Linked DNA regions of Homo sapiens: all the other regions are linked to region 3. The links are contacts of gene promoters, found by promoter capture Hi-C in blood cells and fetal thymus (Javierre and others, 2016). All regions are on one chromosome and are shown on one strand. Each heading gives the region's core, a stretch centred on a gene start or on the middle of the fragment in contact. The rest is flanking DNA. Distances are from core to core; before and after follow the strand shown. Region 1 overlaps VSIG10L (V-set and immunoglobulin domain containing 10 like). Region 2 holds the start of IGLON5 (IgLON family member 5). Region 3 holds the start of CEACAM18 (CEA cell adhesion molecule 18). Region 4 overlaps SPACA6 (sperm acrosome associated 6).

What was found. Contacts are between HindIII fragments. The CHiCAGO score rates a contact against its expected background, and 5 or more counts as called.
Region 1: a contact is called between a fragment that was not itself captured here and the fragment with the promoter of CEACAM18 in region 3, in 5 of 17 cell types (naive B cells, activated CD4 T cells, total B cells and 2 more). The highest score is 8.2, in naive B cells.
Region 2: the fragment with the promoter of IGLON5 here is called in contact with the fragment with the promoter of CEACAM18 in region 3 in 7 of 17 cell types (fetal thymus, activated CD4 T cells, total CD4 T cells and 4 more); the score reaches 7.3 in fetal thymus.
Region 4: a fragment that was not itself captured here is called in contact with the fragment with the promoter of CEACAM18 in region 3 in 5 of 17 cell types (monocytes, total B cells, neutrophils and 2 more); the score reaches 8.2 in monocytes.

Annotation. Positions count from the first base shown.
Region 1 is chr19:51,329,327-51,334,577 of GRCh38, forward strand. VSIG10L (V-set and immunoglobulin domain containing 10 like) reads right to left here. Exons shown (of 10, transcript NM_001163922.3): 8 at 4,865-4,978; 9 at 4,465-4,619; 10 at 2,215-3,314. The coding sequence ends at 3,285. IGLON5 (IgLON family member 5) reads left to right here. Exons shown (of 8, transcript NM_001101372.3): 8 at 1-1,565. Among named protein-coding and RNA genes, the nearest start is that of VSIG10L-AS1, 8.1 kb to the right of the region's middle. The HindIII fragment of the contact is 3,891 bases long and covers 1,928-5,251 here.
Region 2 is chr19:51,308,991-51,314,553 of GRCh38, forward strand. It overlaps IGLON5 (IgLON family member 5), which reads left to right and starts at 2,654. Exons shown (of 8, transcript NM_001101372.3): 1 at 2,654-2,936. The coding sequence starts at 2,858. The HindIII fragment of the contact is 5,776 bases long and covers 1-5,563 here.
Region 3 is chr19:51,477,289-51,482,885 of GRCh38, forward strand. It overlaps CEACAM18 (CEA cell adhesion molecule 18), which reads left to right and starts at 1,251. Exons shown (of 6, transcript NM_001405061.1): 1 at 1,251-1,406; 2 at 3,045-3,392; 3 at 4,105-4,377. The coding sequence starts at 1,355. The HindIII fragment of the contact is 9,749 bases long and covers 1-5,597 here.
Region 4 is chr19:51,694,046-51,699,185 of GRCh38, forward strand. It overlaps SPACA6 (sperm acrosome associated 6), which reads left to right. Exons shown (of 9, transcript NM_001316972.2): 2 at 433-510. Among named protein-coding and RNA genes, the nearest start is that of SPACA6-AS1, 3.2 kb to the left of the region's middle. The HindIII fragment of the contact is 3,711 bases long and covers 1,648-5,140 here.

The DNA.
Region 1 (5,251 bases), core at 2,623-5,122, 150 kb before region 3:
CGAAAGGGCAACTCCTGGCAGGTTGGGAGTGGGGAGGGGCATCGCACTCACCTGTCAAGCTGTCATTCAGCCTTTGTGAGTAAGTGGGGGACCTCCATCTAGGCTCTGGGCTTCCCTGCTGTCAACCACCAGCTTCCTGTAGCCAGAGGCCCCATCGCTGGCTCAGTGGCCTGAGACCTTCCCACTTTTCCTGTCCCTCCACACCCTGGATTTTCTGGCCCCCTCCTGGGCCAATCGGTGCTTCCATCCAACTGTCAGACTGGTGGCAGGAGTCACCTGTCTGTTTCAGTGCTTTGCCCTACCCTTGCCACCACTCCCCTTGGCCTTGATTTCCCCACCTGCGGCACCAGCCAGCTGCCCTTGGGGCCTTTGCAGCTGGCCCACAGGTGTGAGCTTGCTGGTCTATCACTTCCTGGCCTCTCCACCAACTGTACCTCCCAAAGGCTACCTGACCGCCCTCACAGACACTCAGACGCACCACACACACATACACACACACAGACACACACACACACACACACACACACACCAGCGACTGTGACCAGCAATAGCCCCCTGGCTCCAGCTGTCCGGTAGCTGGTGACTAGCTGTATTTCCCCCTGGGTAGGCATCTGGTGTCAGGAAGGGACGCTGAGAGGCCGCAGCCTCAGCTCTGACTGTAGGAACACTCCACCCTGGTACACCACACCACACAAAGTGGGGGACAGAGAGGCATCACACAGACATCCTGAGCCCAGACAAAGATGCCATGTCACCAACTCCGACTCCCAGGAGACCCTCTATATAAACACCCACCCCAAACCACACCACCCAGAGTCTGGTGGAGAAAAGGAGAGGGCAAGGCGCAGTGACTGTACCTCAGACGGGGGCATGGGCCCCATCCCACATTGTCTTCCATTCCCAGGGTCCAGGGGATGGGGTGGGACAGGGGAGGGATGCTAGGGAGGGGGTGGGGGGCCCTGGGGGCCATGTGTTCCAATTCATGGGGAGTGTTGAGACCACCACACCAATAAACGCCTTTTTCCAAAGTCTGCCTGCAGGTGTCAATGTCATTAAGGATTAGAGTTAATGAAGGGCAAAGGGTAGCAGTCAATTGGTGGTGCCTCTCCAGCATCATTCCTACCGCCTACTTTCTCACTGGTAGACTTGGAATGGACTCATTACAGAGATGCCCTGTGATTGGCCGAAGACACCCAGCATAGCCCATTTCCCACCGTGATTGGCTCAGAGATGGGCACATGACCCAGTAAGGCTAATGAGAAAGTGAATGGATTCCCAAGAAGAGATGCTTTTCTGCTGGATATTGTGGCTCCGTGATGTGAAGTCAACATCTGTAGGGTTGCTTTTCTCCATCACATGGAGAGATCTTGGCTCTGTGGGGATAGCAATGGTGGGGAGGACAGCATATGGAGCCTGAGAAGGATAGGAACACTGTGAAGGGCAGAGTGGAAACCTTAGAGAAACTGAGTCCATGATTATATATCATTTGAGCAGCTGGATCAAAACTTAACTGATGCCCATTTTCACTTATATAAGCAATAAAGTCCCCTGTATATTTAAACCAATTTGCATTGGATTTTCTATCTCTAGTAATAAAAAAGAGAATGAAAACCATAATAGATACAGAAGAGACATAGAAGGCCCAGAACCCCAACCCTCACCTTTCCAAAAGGATCCAGGGGTTCTATTTTCCAATGGCCTTTTCTACCCCCAATCATTAACCAGAAATTCTCTCACATGCTTTCCTTCCCTGAGACAGATGCTGGTTGCCCACATTTGAGTTGTTTGGTTCCCCTTTCTTCTTCGCTGGCAGATCCACGTGTTATGATACAGGCTAGATATCTGGTTTCCTAGCCTCCTTTGCAGCTATGTGGCCAGTTTGGGCCAAAGAGACATAAATGGAAATTTGCTTGTAGGTTTCCAGGAAAGCTTCCCTCCCACCCCATGAGAGGGAAGAAGGCAGTGATAGAGGGAGGTAGAGGGTGGGGAAGATGTATAGGGAGGAAGTTCTGCCCCCTTCCTTTTATCTTTGGATACAGTTGTGTGAAGATGTGATGACTGGAGCTGCAGCAACCATCTTGCTACGTGAAGCAACATGCTTAGAGTCAATGTGCCAACCCACTGAGGGTGGCAGAGCAGATGGATGCAAAGGGCCCATGTCTTTAATGGCGTTACTGAGCTGCTGAGCCAGCCTGAAACCAGCCGCCTCCATAGTTCTTGCCACCATTTTATTTTGTTACTTGCAGTCAAAAGAATCCTCACCAATGCACTCTCTAAATTCTCAATTAGAAACCCAGCTGAAAAAGCAAGACTTACGCTGAAGACAGCAGCAGCAAGCCCAACTCTTCACTGGCACCAAAACATTTGATCAGTCAACAAATATTTATTGATTGCCTGCTGTGTGTGAGGCTCTGGGTTAAGTGCTGAGTTAATGATGTGGTCTCTGCTTTTGTAAAGCCCTTAGTTTAGAGAGAGAGTCTCAGGCCACACAAGAAATTACATATTTATGTATCAGGAACGGCAAATTCAAGGATTCTGGGACTTAACCCAAGACTAAGGGAGGGGTAAGGGAACGGTCGTCTAAGATGGTAACTGCTACTCTTAGACTTGAGAAATGAATGACATATGGGAAAAAGAAGTGTTATAAGCACAGCAAACTCTAGGGGCAAAATAAATTGTGGCTGAGAGACAGACTGTGATACTGGAGTCCGGGGGCAGAGAAAGAATTGGGAGGGGAGGTCAGGGAGGCCAACAGAGGCCAGACCACAAGGTTTTGAAGGTCACGACGATGAGTTTGGATAATATCTGAAGGGAAATGCACAGGCCGTAGAAGCGTTTAAAGAGAAGAGTGACATGATCTGATCTGTTTTAAGATGAAGATGCTGGGAGCTGGATGGGGTGTGGCCTACAGGTGGCAAAGTGAATGTAAGGGGACCTTTTCAGAGAACATGGCCAAGCTCCCTCTCTAGCTCAGAGCAACACAGCAAGCCCTGCCTGTCTGCTGCAGAGGCTTGGAGGTTGTGCAAACCACACAGTTAGATCAGCAAGAGTTTCCCAGCCAAGAAGTCACATCTCCTTACTTGCACAAATACAGGAAGACTCTTCTTCTGCAGCAAGAGAGGGAGACAGAAAGTCCCACTTTCAGGGTCCAACCCTCAGTCATAGCAGGCCCTGGCTGCTGCTGGAGTGAAATAGGAAGTTCTGGCCCAAAACGCCCTGTGCAGGGCAGACCACTGGCTCTGATCACACCTGTGTGGCTGCGCGAACAGTCTTTGAGCCTCCGCCTACAGAGACAACTGAACTGGGGTCTGTGCCTGGAAGAGAGAGGTGGGGTGAGGGGAGAACTCAGTAGGTACTCTGGATGTGACATAACTCACCCGCCTAACTTTTTCTAGCTCTTGCTTGAACTTTTTAGAGATTATCTGGGAACCCTCCATTTGGAGAGGGGAAAAAAAATGCCTGGCTATCCTTGGTGGAGCGAAGCCAGCCAACAACCCAACCCAGTTGTTATTTTTTATTTATTTATTTATTTATTTATTTTGAGACAGGGTCTCACTCTGTCATCCAGGCTAGAGTACAGTGGCACCGTTAGAGCTCACTGCAGCCTTGACCTCCCAGGCCCAAGCAATCCTCCCACCTCAGCCTCCCTAGTAGCTGGGACTACAGGTACGTGCCACCATGCCCGACTAATTTTAAAATTTTTTGTAGAGATGGGGTATCCCTATGTTGCCCAAGCTGGTATCGAACTCCTGAGCTCAAGTGATTCTCTCTCCTCAACCACCCGAAGTGCTGGGATTACAGGCATGAACTATCACACCCAGTCACAACAATCCTTCTTTTATGGGGAATGAGGTAACTGTACCCCACTTCATAGAGAAAAATGGGCCTTGCCCAATTTTTATGGGAAAGAAAAATGGAGGGGCTGGGCGTAGTGGCTCATGCCTGTAATCCCAGCACTTTGGGAGGCCAAGGTGGGCGGATCACTTGAGGTTAGGAGTTCGGGACCAGCCTGCCTAACATGGTGAAATCCCGTCTGTACTAAAAATACAAAAATCAGTCAGGCGTTGTGGTGCTTGCCTGTAATCCCAGCTACTCAAGTGGCTGAGGCAGGAAAATCGCTTGAACCCAGGAGGCGGAGGCTGCAGTGAGTCGAGATTGCACCACTGCAGTCCAACCTGGGCAACAAAGTGAGACTCTGTCTCCAAAAAAAAAAAAAAGAGAGAGAGAGATCCTATTTCCCTCCTTTGGAGAAGAAACTGGAATTCACTCTTATTTTAATATACATCAAAGTTGGGCGGGAAGCTCTGTCCAACTTTGATGCATTTTTAAAAAGGATAAAGTTATACAGACTGTAAACTAACAAGTAAAACTGGAGTTAGATAATTGAGACCCTCTCATCTCCCTGACTGTAATACAAGAAGTTCCGCCCCGATTCCAGGAGGAAATGAGGGCACCCACACTCACTTGGTAGGCCCTAGTTGAGCTGTGGTCCTCCAGAGGGACTTTGAGGTCCAGAGGCCATGAAATCTCCACTGGGGTCACACTATGCATCTTCTTTTCTGAGGGGGTGACCACGGGGACCAAGGTAGAAGGATGCTTCTTTTTCTCAGGAGTCTTTCCTGATTGAGAGGCAGAAGAGAAGCAGGAACACGTGATTGGCTGCCCCAACATGCCAACCCAGCCAATAGCAAGGGAAGCTGGTTGGAGAGGCGGAGCCTTATGCTGATTGGCTGATTTGGAGGTAGGAGGGCAGGATGGATGACCTATGACGGCACTGATTGCCTCAGCCAGGTCTTCCATAGGCCTCTTTCTAGGGTCCCTCCCCGTTGGTCATGGTTGCCCCTTCCCCAGTCCCCTTGCTCACCACGAAAGCGGCACAGGCAGCAGATGCAAAGGAGGAGAAGTACGGCTAGCAGCGCCAGGCCCAGCAGGGAGCCCAGGACGATGCCAGCGATGGCCCCATGGCTCAACGTGGGGCCTGGAAGAGACAAAGAGAAGAAAGAGAAGGGGAACAGGAACCAAGGTTGGACCCAAGTTTCCTAAGCCCCCTAACTTTGTGCTGGGACCCAGGAGTCCGGCCCCCACTGTCCCTCCCCTCCCAGAACCCAGGAATGTGGGACCCCAGCACTCTCAACTCATTTAACAGTTACTGAGTGACCGTGGTGTGCCTGGCTCTCAGACAGGTAGTGAGGATTCATTCGTGGGCCAAACAGGAAAGATATCTACCCTTATGGGGCTTAATTCTAGGAGA
Region 2 (5,563 bases), core at 1,404-3,903, 170 kb before region 3:
TGAAAGAAGGAAATCGGCCGGGCGCAGTGGCTCACACCTGTAATCCCAGCACTTTAAGAGGCCGAGGCGGGCAGATCGCCTGAGATCAGGAGTTGAAGACCAGCCTGACTAGCATGGAGAAACCCCATCTCTATTAAAAATACAAAACGAGCCGACTGTGATGGTGCATGCCTGTGATCCCAGCTGCTCAGGAGGCTGAGGCAGGAGAATCACTTGAACCCAGGAGTTAGAGGTTGTGGTGAGCCAAGATCATACCATTGCACTCTAGCCTGGGCAAGAAGAGCAAAACTCTGTCAAAAAAAAAAGAAAGAAAGAAAGAAAGAAAGAAAAGAAAAGGAAAAGGCAAAAGAACATTGTTAGTGCTATGAAGAGGTATGACGTAGAGTTATTGTGCTGGGAGTAGCAGCTACTTTGGAAACTATGATCAATGAAGGCTTCTTAAAGGGGAGAAGATGAGCCTTAAATAAGAAAGAGTCATCTGCCAGTGTGGTAGGAAGAGCATTCCAGCGAAAGAACGGCAAGTACAAAGACCCTGGGGCTGGAATTGTTCGGTTTGTTTAAGGAATGGAAAGAAGGTCACAGCGAGCTGAGTGATTGAGGCAGGGAGTGGCCCTAGCTGGTCCAGGTGTTTAGTGGTGGTTGTTCTGAAGGTGGAGGCAAAGGTAGAGGCCAAGAGAGTAGAGCATAGGCTGCTACAGCCAGAGTCCTACAGGGAGAGGTGGTGAAAGCTCAGACCAGGATGGGAGAGTAAGAAAAGGACAAAGCAGAGATTTGTTTTGGAGACAGAGCCAGCGGTTCTTGCAGACAAATTGGATGTGAGTGGAGGGGGAAGGAATTGAGGATGGATATGTTTCTGAGGCAGAACAGCCCCTACTGGGTAACTTCAAAAGCTCCTGCCTTGAACTGCTACAGAAATAACGTAGACTCAGAGATTATTTTGCTCCTGCGTATGCCAAGGGGACGGGAACAGGAGGGTGGAATACACCTAGTAAACAGATGCAAAGTGGAAAGGGGAGGGAGAAACTCACTACAGGTTTTTGAGGTGCTGGCTGGAGCCAGGAGCTGCTCCAAGATCTCTCATTCTTCTCAATAACCTTGGGCAATAGGGAATTTTCCACCTTGCAGGGGAAGACGCTGAGGTTCTGGGAAGAGAAATGGCTTGTCCAAGGTCACACAGCCAAGTCAGTGAAAGAACAGGGAGCCAGGATGTTTTGCACCTAAACCCTGGATTATGGTTTCCTCCCCACCTGCTCCCCCAAGATAAGTCCCCCAATCCCTTCCCATTGCCTTATTATACTGGGGATGAGGGTTGGGGTGGAGGAAAAAAGCAAATTTCACTCCAAAAGTCAGTGTTTTCGTTATCCATGAAAATAGATGGAAAAGCTGAACTGTGGCCCACAGGAAGAGGGGCCTGGGGGCCTGGCCTCCTGGGTCTGAGGGAGGAGGGGGCTGGGGGCCTGGACTCCTGGGTCTGAGGGAGGAGGGGCTGGGGGCCTGGACTCCTGGGTCTGAGGGAGGAGGGGCTGGGGGCCTGGACTCCAGGGTCTGAGGGAGGAGGGGCTGGGGGCCTGGACTCCAGGGTCTGAGGGAGGAGGGACTGGGGACCTGGACTCCTGGGTCTGAGGGAGGAGGGGCTGGGGGCCTGGACTCCTAGGTCTGAGGGAGGAGGAACTGGGGACCTGGACTCCTGGGCCTGAGGGAGGAGGGGCTGGGGACCTGGACTCCTGGCTCTGAGGGAGGAGGGGCTGGGGGCCTGGACTCCAGGGTCTGAGGGAGGAGGAGCTGGGGGCCTGGACTCCTGGGTCTGAGGGAGGAGGGGCTGGGGGCCTGGACTCCTGGGTCTGAGGGACGAGGGGCTGGGGGCCTGGGCTCCAGGGTCTGAGGGAGGAGGGGCTGGGGGCCTGGACTCCTGGGTCTGAGGGAGGAGGGGCTGGGGGCCTGGACTCCTGGGTCTGAGGGAGGAGGGGCTGGGGGCCTGGGCTCCAGGGTCTGAGGGAGGAGGGGCTGGGGGCCTGGACTCCTGGGTCTGAGGGAGGAGGGGCTGGGGGCCTGGACTCCTGGGTCTGAGGGAGGAGGGGCTGGGGGCCTGGGCTCCAGGGTCTGAGGGAGGAGGGGCTGGGGGCCTGGACTCCTGGGTCTGAGGGAGGAGGGGCTGGGGGCCTGGGCTCCAGGGTCTGAGAGAGGAGGGGCTGGGCCTGGACTCCTGGGTCTGAGGGAGGAGGGGCTGGGGGCCTGGACTCCTGGGCTGAGGGAGGAGGGGCTGGGGGCCTGGACTCCTGGGTCTGAGGGAGGAGGGGCTGGGGGCCTGGACTCCTGGGTCTGAGGGAGGAGGGGCTGGGGGCCTGGACTCCAGGGTCTGAGGGAGGAGGGGCTGGGGACCTGGGCTCCTGGGTCTGAGAGAGGAGGGACTGGGGCTAGTCTCCTAGGTCCATGGGAGGATGAGATTGGGACTTGAAGGAGGAGGGAGCTGGGTTTTAGGAAGTATCCCAGACTCCGTGTTCTGCGGATGTGGTGGAAAGACGTGGGGACGCCTGGGGCGGGAGGGGTAGGGGCCGGGCCGCAGTAACAAAGGCCTCTCCCTCCAACAAGCAACCCCCCCTTGACCCCGCCTCCCCGGCCCCCCACCTCTCCTGATTGGCCGGTCTCCCTGCCCGTCAGCGCCGCCCCCCTCCCCGGGTCTGCAGCAGCTCCAGCCGCCTCGTCGCGCCCCCCCAGCCCCCTCCCCCCGCCCCCGCCGCCCCCCGGGCCGGTGCAGCGCAGGCGGGGTCCCCCTCCCCCTCCCCCCTCTCCCCCCAGGCCTCGCGCGCCCCGGACCGGCCCCCCCTTTCCCCTCCCCCTCCGCGCCGCCTCTGCCGCGATGCCCCCCCCTGCGCCCGGGGCCCGGCTCCGGCTTCTCGCCGCCGCCGCCCTGGCCGGCTTGGCCGTCATCAGCCGAGGTACCGCAGCGCCGGGGGCGGGGGGCTCGGCCGGGACGCCAGGGTCTTGGGTGGGTAATCGGGGGATCAGGGGTGGGGGTCGAGGGCTGCATCCCTGGGCCGGCGCGGGGAGGCCCCGGGACGCCGGGGTCTGGGCCCGGGGGTGGGGTCTGCATTCCCTGGCTGGGCAGGGGGACCTCGGACGTGGGGGTCCGCGCCCCGGGGCAGGGGTCGGCGTCCTCGGGCCGGAGCCGGGTCTAGGGGCGGAGGTCTGCTTCCCCGAGCAGGCAAGAGGGTCGCAGACACCTAGCCCTGCCTGGGGGCAGGAGTCTGCGGCTCCTGTTGAGGAGGGGGCAGACACTGGACTCGGGGTCCCCGGGTCGGATCTCCGAACTGAGTTGGGGTGGGGGGCAGGGGATAATGCCCTGTTAGGGGTCTTCATCTGTACGTGGAGAGGGTCCCTGAAGAGGTCCTTGCCGGGGGCTGGGGTAGTCATCTCGGGACAGAGGTCAGGGGATGGATGCCTTCCCAGGGTCAGTAAGAGGAGGGGACAAGGGTGTCCACAGACCTAGTCCCAGGGTCAGGAAAAGAGGGGAAGGGTCTGAAATCCCCCAGCAGGGTCATCTAGGTTGAGAGAAAGTGTTGGTACTTGGGGAGGTTGCAGTTATGTGGGGGAGAAGGGAGCTGGAGATACAGGAAGTTGGGGTGCTGGGCTGGGGTCTTGGATTCCCAAGCTCTGATTGAATGTCTAGGTTCGTGGGGCTGGACAGTGGAAGAGCGATGGGCATGGGAGGATGAAGGAAAGACGGAAGGGAAGGGTTAAAGCAGGTTGAAGGGTTAACCCCGGCCCGGCCCGGCCCTCCCAGTTGGGGAGAGGGCCAGGGGCAGGTTTCTGCACTGAGGTTAGATAGCTGGACCTTGAGTCTCCCCAGTAGGGCCTGGCAGGCAGGGGGTGGTCAAGGAGATTCCTAGATTTCCCCCTAAGAAAAGGGAGGAGAGTGCAAGGAGGCAGGAGGCTGGAGGGTGGGCGCTCAGGAGGGCAGGGAGCTGGGTTAATTCAGACTTTCTGGAGGATTCCCCCAGGCCCTCCCCTGAACAAAGAGTTCCAGGGACAACCAAGAACCCCGACAGAGTCCCCAAGAGTCTCAGAGAGGCCGCCCGCATAGACCAAGTCTGGCACAGAAACCCCGTCACAGCGTCCCACCCGAAGCAGCACCTGCAGACACCAGTCACACAAACACAGCCCCATCCACGCAGGACGCAGGGACCTGGTGGGCCACAGCCTCAGTCCCTTGCTAGTCCTCCCCCGTCTCCCACCTGACCAGTCTGAATCGCCCTCTGACTTTCTGACCACCTGTCTCTGTCTCTGTCATGCATCTCTTTAGGTCTTTGTGTCCCTGCCATTTCTGGAGGTTCCCATCCCTTCCCATCTCTGTTATCCACTGCTGACTTTCCACCTGCCTCTGTCTCTGGGTCATTGTCTCTCCATCCCTGCTGCTGACAGCACAGTTCCACATCTGTCTGTCTCTGCTTTTCAGACTGTTGCCCATTGCATGACTCAGTCTCTTGATACTTGCTTGCTTCCTCACTTATGCCTTAATCTTCATTAACTTCTCTCATTTCCTTCTCTCATTCATTTCCTTCTTGTTCTGACCTACCTTTCTCTTTTTTCTTTCTCTTTCCTTCTTTCTCTTTCCTTCTTTCTTTCTTTCCTTCTTTCTCTTTTTCTCTCTCTCTCTCTTTTTCTTTCTTTCTTTCTTTCTTTCTTTCTTTCTTTCTTTCTTTCTTTCTTCTTTCTTCTCTTTTTTTCTTTCTTTTTCTTGTTTTTTTGAGACAGGGTCTGACTTTCTCACCTAGGCTGGAGTGGAGTGGTGCAAGCATACACAGCTCACTGCAGCCTCAATTTCCCTGCCTCAAGCGATCCTGCCACCTCAGCCTCTGGAGTAGCTGGGACCACAGATGCACGCCACCACACCTGGCTAATTTTTAATTTTTTTTCTTTGTAGAGATGGGGGTCTCACTATATTGCCCAGACTAGTCTCAAATTCCTGGCCTCAAGTGATCCTCCCACCTGGGCCTCTCAAAGTGCTGAGATTACAGGTGTGAGCCACTGCACCAGCCACCTCTTCTTTCTTTCTCTCCTTGTCCTTATCTCTTGTCTTCTTCTTCCTCCTCTTCTTTCCCTGATCCTGTACCCTTTGTGACCTTTCCCCCACTTTCCTGTTTCTTCTCTCCCTCCCCTTCTCTCTCTCACTGCAACTTCCCATTTTTCACATTCACTATTTTTTTTTTTTTTGAGGCAGAGTTTTACTCTTGCTGCCAGGCTGGAGTGTAGTGGCATAATCTCAGCTCACTGCAACCTCTGCCTCCCGGGTTCAAGTGATTCTCCTGCCTCAGCCTCGCAAGTAGCTGGGACTACAGGTGTGTGCCACCACGCTGGGCTAATTTTTGTACTTTTAGTAGATACAGGGTTTCACCATGTTGGCCAGGCTGGTTTCGAACTCCTGACCTCAGGTGATCTGCCCACCTCAGCCTCCCAAAGTGCTGGGATTACAGGCATGAGCCACTGTCTGGCCCCCACATTCATTCTTAAAGTCCCTATAAATCATTACGGGGCTAGACTGGGGCAGGAAGCTGTGGCAGAGCCA
Region 3 (5,597 bases), core at 1-2,500:
ATCCCTGTTTTTAGAAACAGCCTGACCCTCCAACAACAAAGTGTCAACCTAAATAACAAACAGAGAGAAGCTCTCTAAAAGAAAATGATATGTATTCAGGAATGGGGCATTGCAATGGGAATCTGGGTGCTATAGTAAACTACGTGCATATTCAGGGAGGTAAAAGAACACAAAGGGTTTTCAATGGAAAAATGAGGAGGACCCCATAAATGGTTTGAGATAATTACCCTAGGCTACAAGGATCCCTAATGAGGGTGACGTCAGTCCAAGTTTGGACCGGAGGTTGCTGTCCAAATACTTGTCACAGAAGTATTTTTTTGGTGGAAGGAAGCAATGGCTTTTGTGCAAGACTATGGTTTCTGCAGCGTCTTCTGTGAAAATTTTTGTTGTCAGAGAGCCCTCGCTTCACAGCCTTCCCCACTGTATTTCTCAGGGATTTTTTTGGCTTGTGAGCACTTTCACAAAGGGATCTGGTTATACACACACTGGTTCAGGTCTAGAAGAGCATTCCCTGCAGCCATTCACAATGGTCATGGGAGGAATATTTAGTGACATAGAGAAATAGTCCACTGTTGAGGAGGAAAGCAGCCAGTTGTAAAACAGCCCCAGGCAGTCTAAAAGTTGGGCCCTACACCGGGCACGGTGGCTCACACCTGTAATCTCAGCACTTTGGGAGGCCGAGGTGGGCGGATAACGAGGTCAAGAGATCAAGACCATCCTGGCCAGCATGATGTAACCCCGTCTCTACTAAAAACACAAAAATTAGCTGGGTGTGGTGGCACGAGCCTGTAGTCCCAGCTACTCGGGAGGCTGAGGCAGGTGAATCACTTGGACCCGGAAGACGAGGTTGCGGTGAGCCAAGATCATGCCATTGCACTCCAGCCTGGTGACAGAGCGAGACTCCGTGAAAAAAAAAAAAAAAAAAAAAAAGCTGGGCCCTGCATAGGAAAACCAAACCAAATGGAAACAGGACATACAGTTGAGGAGTTTGATGTCCTATCTTTGAGGCACTTGGCTGTATTTTCTGGTTTTCTTTGTTTTCCCAACAGTGAGCCTGTGTTTTTCCGTTTTTTCATGACCAGAGAAAAAAATGTAAATTATTATAAAAATAAGTAAATAAATAATGAACTAAAGGCAACATAAAGCCATAAAGATAAGGTTGGGCTCTCAAGAGCCGTCTTCCCCAGGCCCCACCCCTGCTGGTCAGAGTGCACCCTGGGGAGGAAAGGCCGCCCTGAAGGCTGGGAGACGAGACCGGCAGCCTCTGTGCCAGGAGACACAGGTCTTGGAGGGAGCAGAGGAGGTGGCTGTGTCTCTGGAGGGACCCCTCCTCCTGGAGGACCCCAGGCAGCTCATGGACCTTTCCAGACCCAGATGGAGCCTGTGGAGGAGGGTCTTCCTCATGGGTAAGAGATGCTGGATGCTGGATGAGCTTCCCAGGACTGAGGGAAGGGCAGCTAGGAGCAAAGCGGCGGGGAGGGGGCTGGGACCATCCCCATCCACGGGCACATCAAGAAACTCCCAGAGCAGGGGTCGGGGAGAGGAGAAGGGGGAGGACCCTCAGCACAACTTTCATGAGCTCACACACGTGGGCACACTTTGCCCCTAGACACACCCCTGCACAGACCCACACATGTGGTGTTACACACACACGCACACGCACATGCACACACACACACGCGCGCACACACAGAGAGAGAGAGAGAGAAACTGTGTTTCTATCTACGCCCAGGAATCAGGAGCTTGGACCTTCACCCTCACCTCCCTGCACTCACCTCCCACTGGGTGCCCCAATCTGCCCCATCCCCTCCCCCACCTCTCAGGCCAGATTCCTTCCCAGCCCCTCACCTTTGCCCAGGACCTTCTGTGCCCCCTACAAGCACAACTGTCCTGCTTTACCACGTGTACTGTCCTTGAACAGGTCCAGTGTGTCCATACGTGAGGCCTAGAGCCGGGGTCTCAGGCATCTCTGCCTCCTCCACATAGCCCAGGCTTGGGGTTCACAGGGCAGTGGACAACTGCCCATGTCATATGTGGTAACAGGCTGCCGCCTCCATTCACACCCACTCCAGTGAATTTAGATGCAAAATCAAAGACATGTAGAAATTCTCGGGGGAGTATTTCTCACCCAGACAATCATTACTGAACTCCCCCTGTGTCCAGCCTGTGCTCAGGGGCGCTGGGGACTCAGTGGTGACTGAGACAGGGCAGTCCTGCCCTCCTGGAGCCCACAGTCCAGGGCGAGATATAGATATGTGCCCAGACTCTGAGGACCCCCAGAGGTCATGGCTGGGATGGGGGGAGCCCAGGAGGAGCTGGGGGAGCCCAGAGGGGACACCTGACCCAGGCTGGGGTGGAGGAGACATCCAAGCTGAGACCTGAGTGATGAATAGAAGTGAGTCAGCAAGGAGGGTGCAGATGGAGAGGAGGGAGAAGGAGTCCCTGCCGGGAATGGGGAACAGCGTGTGCGAAGCCTGGAGTTAGGAGAAGGTGTGGTGCACCAAGAGAGCTATGTAGAGGCCTGGGGCATACAGCGTGGCAGTCATGTCTTCTGATAAATAACTACAGGAATAAATGAGTAAAAGGTGCATAGTGGGGACAGGATGGGGTAGGTGTGCACCACAAGGAGGCTCGATGAGTCACAAACACCAGCTCTGGCTGAGAGTGTTTCATATACCCACCTAAGAGTTTGGACTGTATCCTAAGAGCACTGGGGAGCCATGGAAGGTGTTTGAGCAGAGGAGAACAGGGTCGCAACTTGGGCTTATTAACATTTACGTAACTGTGATGTGAGGATGGATTGGAGGCTGTGTGGCTAGCGAGGAGGGCCTGGGAGAAGATAAGGGTAAAATGGACCACGGCAGGGGCTGAGGGGAGGCACAGGAGGGGACAAGCTGGGGACTCTACCAGGAGCCAGAAACTCTTGCCTGGTTCACCAGCGTCTCTGGGAATCGTTCCCGGATGGTGTCTTTTTTCCTTGTCTTCTCAGCCAGTCTGAATCTCTTTGTGAATTTCTCTCTGTCTTTTTTCCTTGTCTTCTTCAGCCAGTCTGCTGGCCTGTGGGATCTGCCAGGCCTCTGGCCAAATCTTCATCACCCAAACCCTGGGGATCAAGGGATATCGGACTGTCGTGGCCCTGGATAAGGTCCCTGAGGATGTTCAGGAATACAGCTGGTACTGGGGTGCAAACGACAGCGCAGGAAACATGATTATCAGCCACAAACCGCCCAGTGCCCAGCAGCCTGGGCCCATGTACACTGGCAGGGAGAGAGTGAACAGAGAAGGCAGCCTGTTGATCAGGCCGACTGCATTAAATGACACGGGAAACTACACTGTTCGGGTGGTTGCAGGCAATGAGACCCAAAGAGCAACCGGCTGGCTGGAGGTTCTAGGTGGGTTAGCAGGTGCTGTGTTTCCCAACCCCCAAGGAGAGCTAGATGTGACACATTTGAGAGAAGGACATTATACAGAGCATGACACCGGGAGTGGAAATCACGGAGCCGCCCTGGAATCTTGTGTACCATGGACAGCTCCTGGGGGATCTGAGGGCTAGTGGGAGGAGAGGGCGGAGTTGGAAGACAAGCAGTCCTGTATTTGACAGTGGCTGCAAATACATACTGCAGGACCCTGGCCCATTTGTGTTCCTTCTGTGTTCTTCAGTTTCCTCATCTGTAGAGTGGGGAGGAACCCACCATTGTGGTTTGTCGTAGCGTTGGAGGGAGTATTCGTAAAGTGAATGGGACTCAAATAATGGAGTAGTATTGTGTAGCCAAATGCCACCTCTCACTCAGAACCTCTCGTGTCTCCTGGATGAGGGTCCTGGTTTGGAGGATCAGAAACAATGATTAGGCCACATGTTTATGCCAAGAGCTCACCATTATGGCAGCAGACAGCACGGCAGTGGCTCAGGCAAGGCCCACACCTCAGCAGCCTCATTGCCCTGTGCCTATTCCTCTGCCCTTCTCAGCTCCCTTGCCAGGATGCCAGATCTTATCTTACAGCTCTTGGCTTCTCTCCAACATGCCCAGAAGTCCCCTGGAGAGGAGCAGAGCTTGGGGAAGCAGACCCCACTTGTAATTTTTTTCTCTTTCCTGCTTCACCCAGAGTTGGGAAGCAATCTGGGCATCTCCGTCAATGCCAGCTCCCTGGTGGAGAACATGGATTCTGTGGCTGCTGACTGCCTCACAAATGTCACCAACATCACGTGGTATGTGAATGATGTGCCTACCTCTAGTAGTGACCGGATGACAATTTCCCCAGACGGCAAGACCCTCGTCATCCTCAGGGTCAGCCGCTATGACAGAACAATTCAGTGCATGATAGAGAGTTTCCCAGAGATCTTTCAGAGAAGTGAACGCATCTCTCTGACTGTGGCCTGTGAGTGGTCTGGGCTCCTGGGACTGAAGCCAGGGCTGGTCTCAGGGCTTTCTAGGGATAGGAATATGTTAGGACAGGCTGAGCTGGAGAGAGGGGGCATCCTGGGCCAGCCTGCAGCCAGCTCACTCTGGATTGGAATCAGCTCAGGCTCTTGAGCCCTGTGAACTTGGGAGCTGCCCCTGCTACTCAGAAACGTGGTACACTCGAGTTTGAAATGAAGACGCCAGTCCCCACTTCTCAGATTAGAAATGGTCAGTGTGCCTTTGTTGAGGTCTGCTTTTGTGTAAAGAGGGGACTACTGAATACCATTGTTTCTTAAATTGATGTTCAATTATTAAGTTTTCAAGCCCCTTGAGCCTTGAAATTCTGCTCATTAATTTCTTTCTTCTTTTCTACTAAATTTAGTATAGTCCCTGTCACTCTCTTTCACTGAAACTGAACAGGCTATGCTCCCTTAAACAGAGAGCTTTATTTAAAGACTCAATTATGCATTCCATACATTCTTTTTTTTTTATAGCCTTTTAGCTGCCTACCGGGGCAAGTTCACCACCCAGGAAGACCTCCACAAATTCTCAGACAGCTCTTGGAAATCGAATACGCTGAACTTATAAATACATTAACACTTAGATTTTTCCCCAGTATTCCAGGACTGCTCACAGAGTTTAATAAACTCTTCCACATCTTCCAACTGAAAACCATAATCACACATCTAAAATCACTTTCACGTCTCCTGGAACTACTCCAGCGGTCTGTCAGATTTCCTAAAGCGCAGGCTACGGCACCCATCCTGTGGAAGGTGGGGTTGAGGGGTGAACAATTTCTGACCTCCATACAGCTGTTTACAGGTCAGAGGCTTGGAACCAAGACCCAGGATCCAGAGGCTGCAGCTGCTCAGGGCAGTTGCTCCCAGGCCCTGAGACTGGCTCAATCCTTCTGTGTCAGTTGGAGTCATAAAGTCCTAATCCTCTCCTCCGAGCCTCATTGTTTTCCATCTATAAAATGGATCAATGGTGGAACCAGTCACATGGGTTGTTCTGGGAATTCAACAAATGTGGGGACAGGCACAGAGCTTAGAACAGTGCCTGGCACACAGTAGGCCCCATGTGTTGGCTTTTACTCCACTAATTTTATTACAATGTAAATGGCACCATGGGCCTGGCCTCTAGTAGTTCCTTAATCATAGAAGATGCTCTTATGGTTATTGTTGTTGACACAGCTGC
Region 4 (5,140 bases), core at 2,253-4,752, 220 kb after region 3:
TGGAGAGTCAGAGAGGGGAGGATGGACACTCGGGAGGATGGAGAGTCAGGAGGATGGAGACTCATAGAAAGGGGAGGATGGAGAGTCAGGAGAGGTTGGAGACTGGAGAGGGAATAGAGACCCAGAGAGGGGAGGATGGAGACTCAGAGGGTGGAAGATGGAGACTCAAAGAGGATGGAAACCCAGAGAGAGGAGGACAGAGATGAGGCAGAGACTAGGGGAAGCAGGATAGCGACTGGTCGGGGGCAGAGACTCAGGGAGGATAGAGACTTGGGAGGGACTCAGGAAGCATAGCGACTGTGGGGCAAAGAGTCAGAGAGGGGAGGATACAGACTTGGGAGGGCAGAGACTCAGAAACAGAATGTTCGCATTAGGGACATGGTGTTGCGGGGAGCTGCCTCCCCCAGCCCCTGCTCCCTCCCTCACCGCCAGACTATGATGAGAGAAGCCACCTGCATGACACCTTCACCCAGATGACCCATGCCCTGCAGGAGCTGGCTGCTGCCCAGGGTGAGTGTGTGGGGATGGGGAGATGGGAGATGTGGACTTGGAGCCCCTAAGAAATGGGTATGTGGGAGGGCCCAGGGCAGAGGAAGGAGGCCCCCAGAGTTGGGCAGTGATCCGGGAGGGGAAAGCTGGGAAGACATTGAGCTCAGCTACTTGTCCAAACGAAGGCTGAAGGCAGCTCTAAGAGCCAGGGGCTGAAGGTGGTGAGGGGGAAGGGACGCTGCAGAAATTGCCTAGAGCTGGAAGTCCAGATGGGGTCGGGTAGGCATAGGTTCTGCCATGGCTGCATGGCTCACACTCTTACTGGCTATGAAGTTCTGGGTGTGTCACTGCCCCTCTCCTGGCCTCAACTTACCCATCTGTAAAGTGGGACAATCTTCTTGCCTCCTAGGATGGCCATGGAGCTCAGTGCAGGGGTTGGGGCTGCCTGATGAGCCTGATCTTAGGGAAGGCATCTTCCTCTAGGATAGAACACACACACACTCGCACACAGACACGCTCAGAGACATACACTCACACTCACACACACACACAGATTTCTTATAAAGTGATTCCACATTTTTGAGGTGTGAGGCAATTAGAGGGCGGGAAAACAGGAACAGCAGAGTGGATCACTCAGGTGACAGCAGTGAAAAGAGACAAGGTGTGACTGTCCTGGTGAGACAGGCACATGTGACAGCCTTGAGGTGTGTGGCTGTGCGAAGAGACCTCAGGGCTGGGGGCCACGCAATGCCGATGGGCAGCATGGGCGGTAATCATGCCTGATCACCATGGCCATGATCCCCACGAGGTGCCAGACCCTGGAACTGTGGAGGCTCGGAGTTGCAGGAGTTACAGAGCCCTGCGCTATAGAATAAACTGGCTTCCTCTTAGGTCCAGGAGCTCAGGGCTTATTCCCACACCCACAGTCGCTCCTTTTGCTTCCTGCTTTGCCCTCCAAGCGTCCTGTCAACAATCCCGGAAGAGGGAAGGTTCCCATCCACCCAGGGGGCATCCAGGGCCAGCCTGGAGAAGGCCTCAGCTGTGGCTCTCCCCATCTCCACCCTAAAGGGAGACCTGAGGCCCTAAACCTCTCCATGTGGGGGTGTGCAGGATTCCAAGAAATGCCCTTTCTCCCCACATAGGCTGCCTTGTTACAGAAGCTTTTGAAAAGATGAGGAACCTTTGGATCTGGGAATGGAAGCCTTCTGTGGGGCCGCATGGGGGACAAACTTGGAGGGGAGAGAGAAGAGGCTGGGTGAGGGTCCAGGCCAGAGCGGAGGCCCGAGTGGGGGCTGGGGCCGTGAAGGTGGAGAAGGGCCAGGGCCAGAGAGTTAGGTCTGCTGGGCTGTTTTGGGAAGCATAGAGAACAGCATCTGAGACAGGTCCTGCTCTGTGCCTGTTGGGCGGTGGGTCATCACCGAAATAAGGAGCCTGAGAGAAAGAGCCGGGGGCAGATGATAAGCTGGGTTAGAAGGCAGTGACTTTGAGGGGTCCCAGGGACGTTTAGGAGGCAGCTAGATACCTAGGTGCAGAGTTCAGCAGAAAAGTCAGAGAGTGTTGAGTCTCTTTCCTCAGGGCGCTGGGGAGCTGCAGCAGGAGTGTGAGCAGTGAAGAAGTAGGGGCAGCTCTGGGTGTAGAAAGAACCCTCTGGGGTCGTGTCAAAGATGGACCAGAGGGAGAGTCTGGAGGCCGGGAGAAGCTGGTGCAATACGTTCAATTATACTTACTGAATGTGCCAGGAACAACCGCTGTGACCAAAACTGCAAACCACCTGTCCTCGGGTTGCTTATATTGGGGTGGAGTCTGGGGAGATAGACAATAAACATAATCGATAAAATATCTTAGTATCTTAGTATGTCAGTTGGTGATCCCTGCCATGGAGGAAAACAGAGAAGGGGAAGAGAAAGGGGTGATAGTTTTTTTGTTTTTTTGAGATAGGGTCTCACTTTGTCACCCAGGCTGGATTGCAGTGATGTGATTATACCTCACTACAGCTTCAAACTCCTGGGCTCAAGCGATCTTCCTGCCTCAGCCTCCCAAGTAGCTGGGACTATAGGTGTGCGCCACCATCTTTGGCTAATTTTTTAAATAGTTTGTAATGATGGTGTCTTGTTATGTTGCATGGGTTGGTCTTGAACTCCTGGGCTCAAGTGATCTTCCCACCTCAGCCTCCCAAAGTGCTGGGATTACAGGCATGAACTACCGTACCTGGCTGGGTGATAATTTTAAATAGGTTGGTCAGGGCAGGTGGAAATGACAGGGTCCAGTTGAGCAAAGACCTGAGCAAGGTGACAGTGACAGCGACAGCCATGCAGATAATCTGTGGAAAGAGATTTTCAGGCCACAGGGAATAGCCAGTGCAAGACCCTGGGGCCCGTGGGGCTGGAGTAAAGGTGAAATCAGAGAGATAGCAAGGGGCCACCTCCTGTAGATCCTCATAGACAGGGGGTTCTCAAGCCCCAGCATACATCAGAATCCCCTGGGAGCTTATTTAAAATGCAGATTTCTGGGCTTCACCACCTCTGACCAGGAGGTCCAAGGTAGGGCCCAGACATGGACGTTTCTGTCAAGATCCCAGGGAATGCTGATGCTGCTGCTCCGGGAACACTCTTTGAGAATCACTGTTGTAGGCCCTTGGAATGACTTTTGTTTTTTGCTCTTGAAATGGGGGAGCTGTTGGAGGACTTTACACAGAGAGACAGGATCTGACCTGGGATTTAACAAGATCTCTCTGGCAGCTGTATGGGGCCTGGACAAAGGCAGGAAGACTTCCAGTGAGAAGCCGGCCCATGGTGGCTTGGACCAGTCACAGTGGTCCGGGGGCCCAGATGAGGTCTGAGCAGAGTGGGGTGGGCATAAGGATTTGACCGTGTGCCAGGCTTGCCCATGCGTGCAAAAGGCTGTGTTTGCCATACACAGAGTCATTCATATTAAGTATCTTCCTAAAGGATATCCTCTACCGGCCCTGTGAGGCTGGGTTTTATAGCCCCGCTTATCAGAAGGGAACGCTGGGCTCTTCTGGACAAGAACAGTAGGCCCAGGATATATTTGGAGATAGACTGGACCAGATGTAGGTGGGTGAGGGCAATGGGAAGAATCAAGGATGACTTTTGCGTCTCCTCCAGAGGGAGCAGCAGGGAGATGGAGGAGCTGATGTAGGCTGACTGCCTCTTGGTGATCCCAGGTGATCTTATTTGTATATATGTATATATAAACCATGGAGTAGATGACGTGGTACAGACTGGATGCAGTATTAGGTGTGGAGATTATGTATGCAGCGATTAGGTGTGGAGGCTCTGGAGCCTGACCACCAGGGTCAAATGTAGCCATGTGATTTTGGACCACTTCTCTAATCTCCCCATGCCTCCGTTTCCCCACCTCAAACTTGGAGATGGCAATCCTAAGTTTGCCAGCCTTCTCTAACACTCACTACGTGCTAGGAGCCATTCTACACACTTAGTGACACCATCTCATACAATCATTAAACGATGCCATGGAAGAGTGGGGATGAGGATGCTTTCATGGTTGTATGGCGTCTCATCCTCCCGCTAATTCTGTGATACAGACACTGCTGTCATCCTCATTTGATGAATGAGGAAACTGAGGATCAGGAAGGTGAAGTCACTTGGCCAAGGTCGCATGGGGAGGAGGGCTTGTGATTGATACTCAGATCTGAGACAGGTGTGCTCAAGACGGAAGCACCAGGACTCAGACCCAGATGATCTGAACCAGGGTCAGAGCTCCTGACGATATGCAACTCCTCTGGGGGAGACTTTACAACACCCACCCATGCCGCCTTATGGCCCGCTTGCTATAACCCAGGCCACTTGGCCTGTTCGGAACATTTCACTCCACTTATACTCCCCTGGTGGAGTATAAGCCCACCCGGCCACCATGGCTTACTTGGTATATCCCACGCTCACCCTGCCCATGAGTCATTTGATTTGGCACATAGAAATTCTTTGGATGACTCCTCCAACATCCTGGCCTCTCATTTGTGCACCCCAGTCTGACCACATGCTCCTGATCATCCTGCCATCTTGAGACCACACTCCTGCTCTGTGGCCAAGGAGAGACCACTGGGTCCTCATTTGGAACCCACTTCTGGGCATCAGTGCTTCCTCTCTCCAAGTGTATATCCAGTGATCATTGTTTTAGGCACTTTCTTGCCAATATCCTCAGTTCCCTCCCTTTTTGTATGGCTTTAATCACAGAGGACGCTTTCCCCTGTCCCTGCAATGGCTTTAAGCCCGTAGGAAGTTTAGCTCTCCTATATAAAGTAAGTCTTGTGGTAGGCACTTAAGGCTAATATGGCACCTCCATTTCTTGGGGATCCAAGCTCCTTCAAGACTTAATATCCCAGGGAGTAGCCCTTGTCCTCATGGTCCCGTGTGGCTGCTAGAGCTCCAACCATCAAAACAAATTTTCAGGCAGCAGGATGGATGAGGGGAACAATAAGATGGCACCACCTTCTCTGTCTTTGTTTTTTAGAGACAGGGTCTTGCTCTATTGCCCAGGCTGGGTGGAGGGCAGTGGTGCAATCATAGCTCACTACAGCCTTGAACTCCTGGGCTCAACCATCCTCCCACTTCAGCTTCCTGAGTAGCTAAGACTACAAGCACACCATCACACCTGGCTAATTTATAAAAAT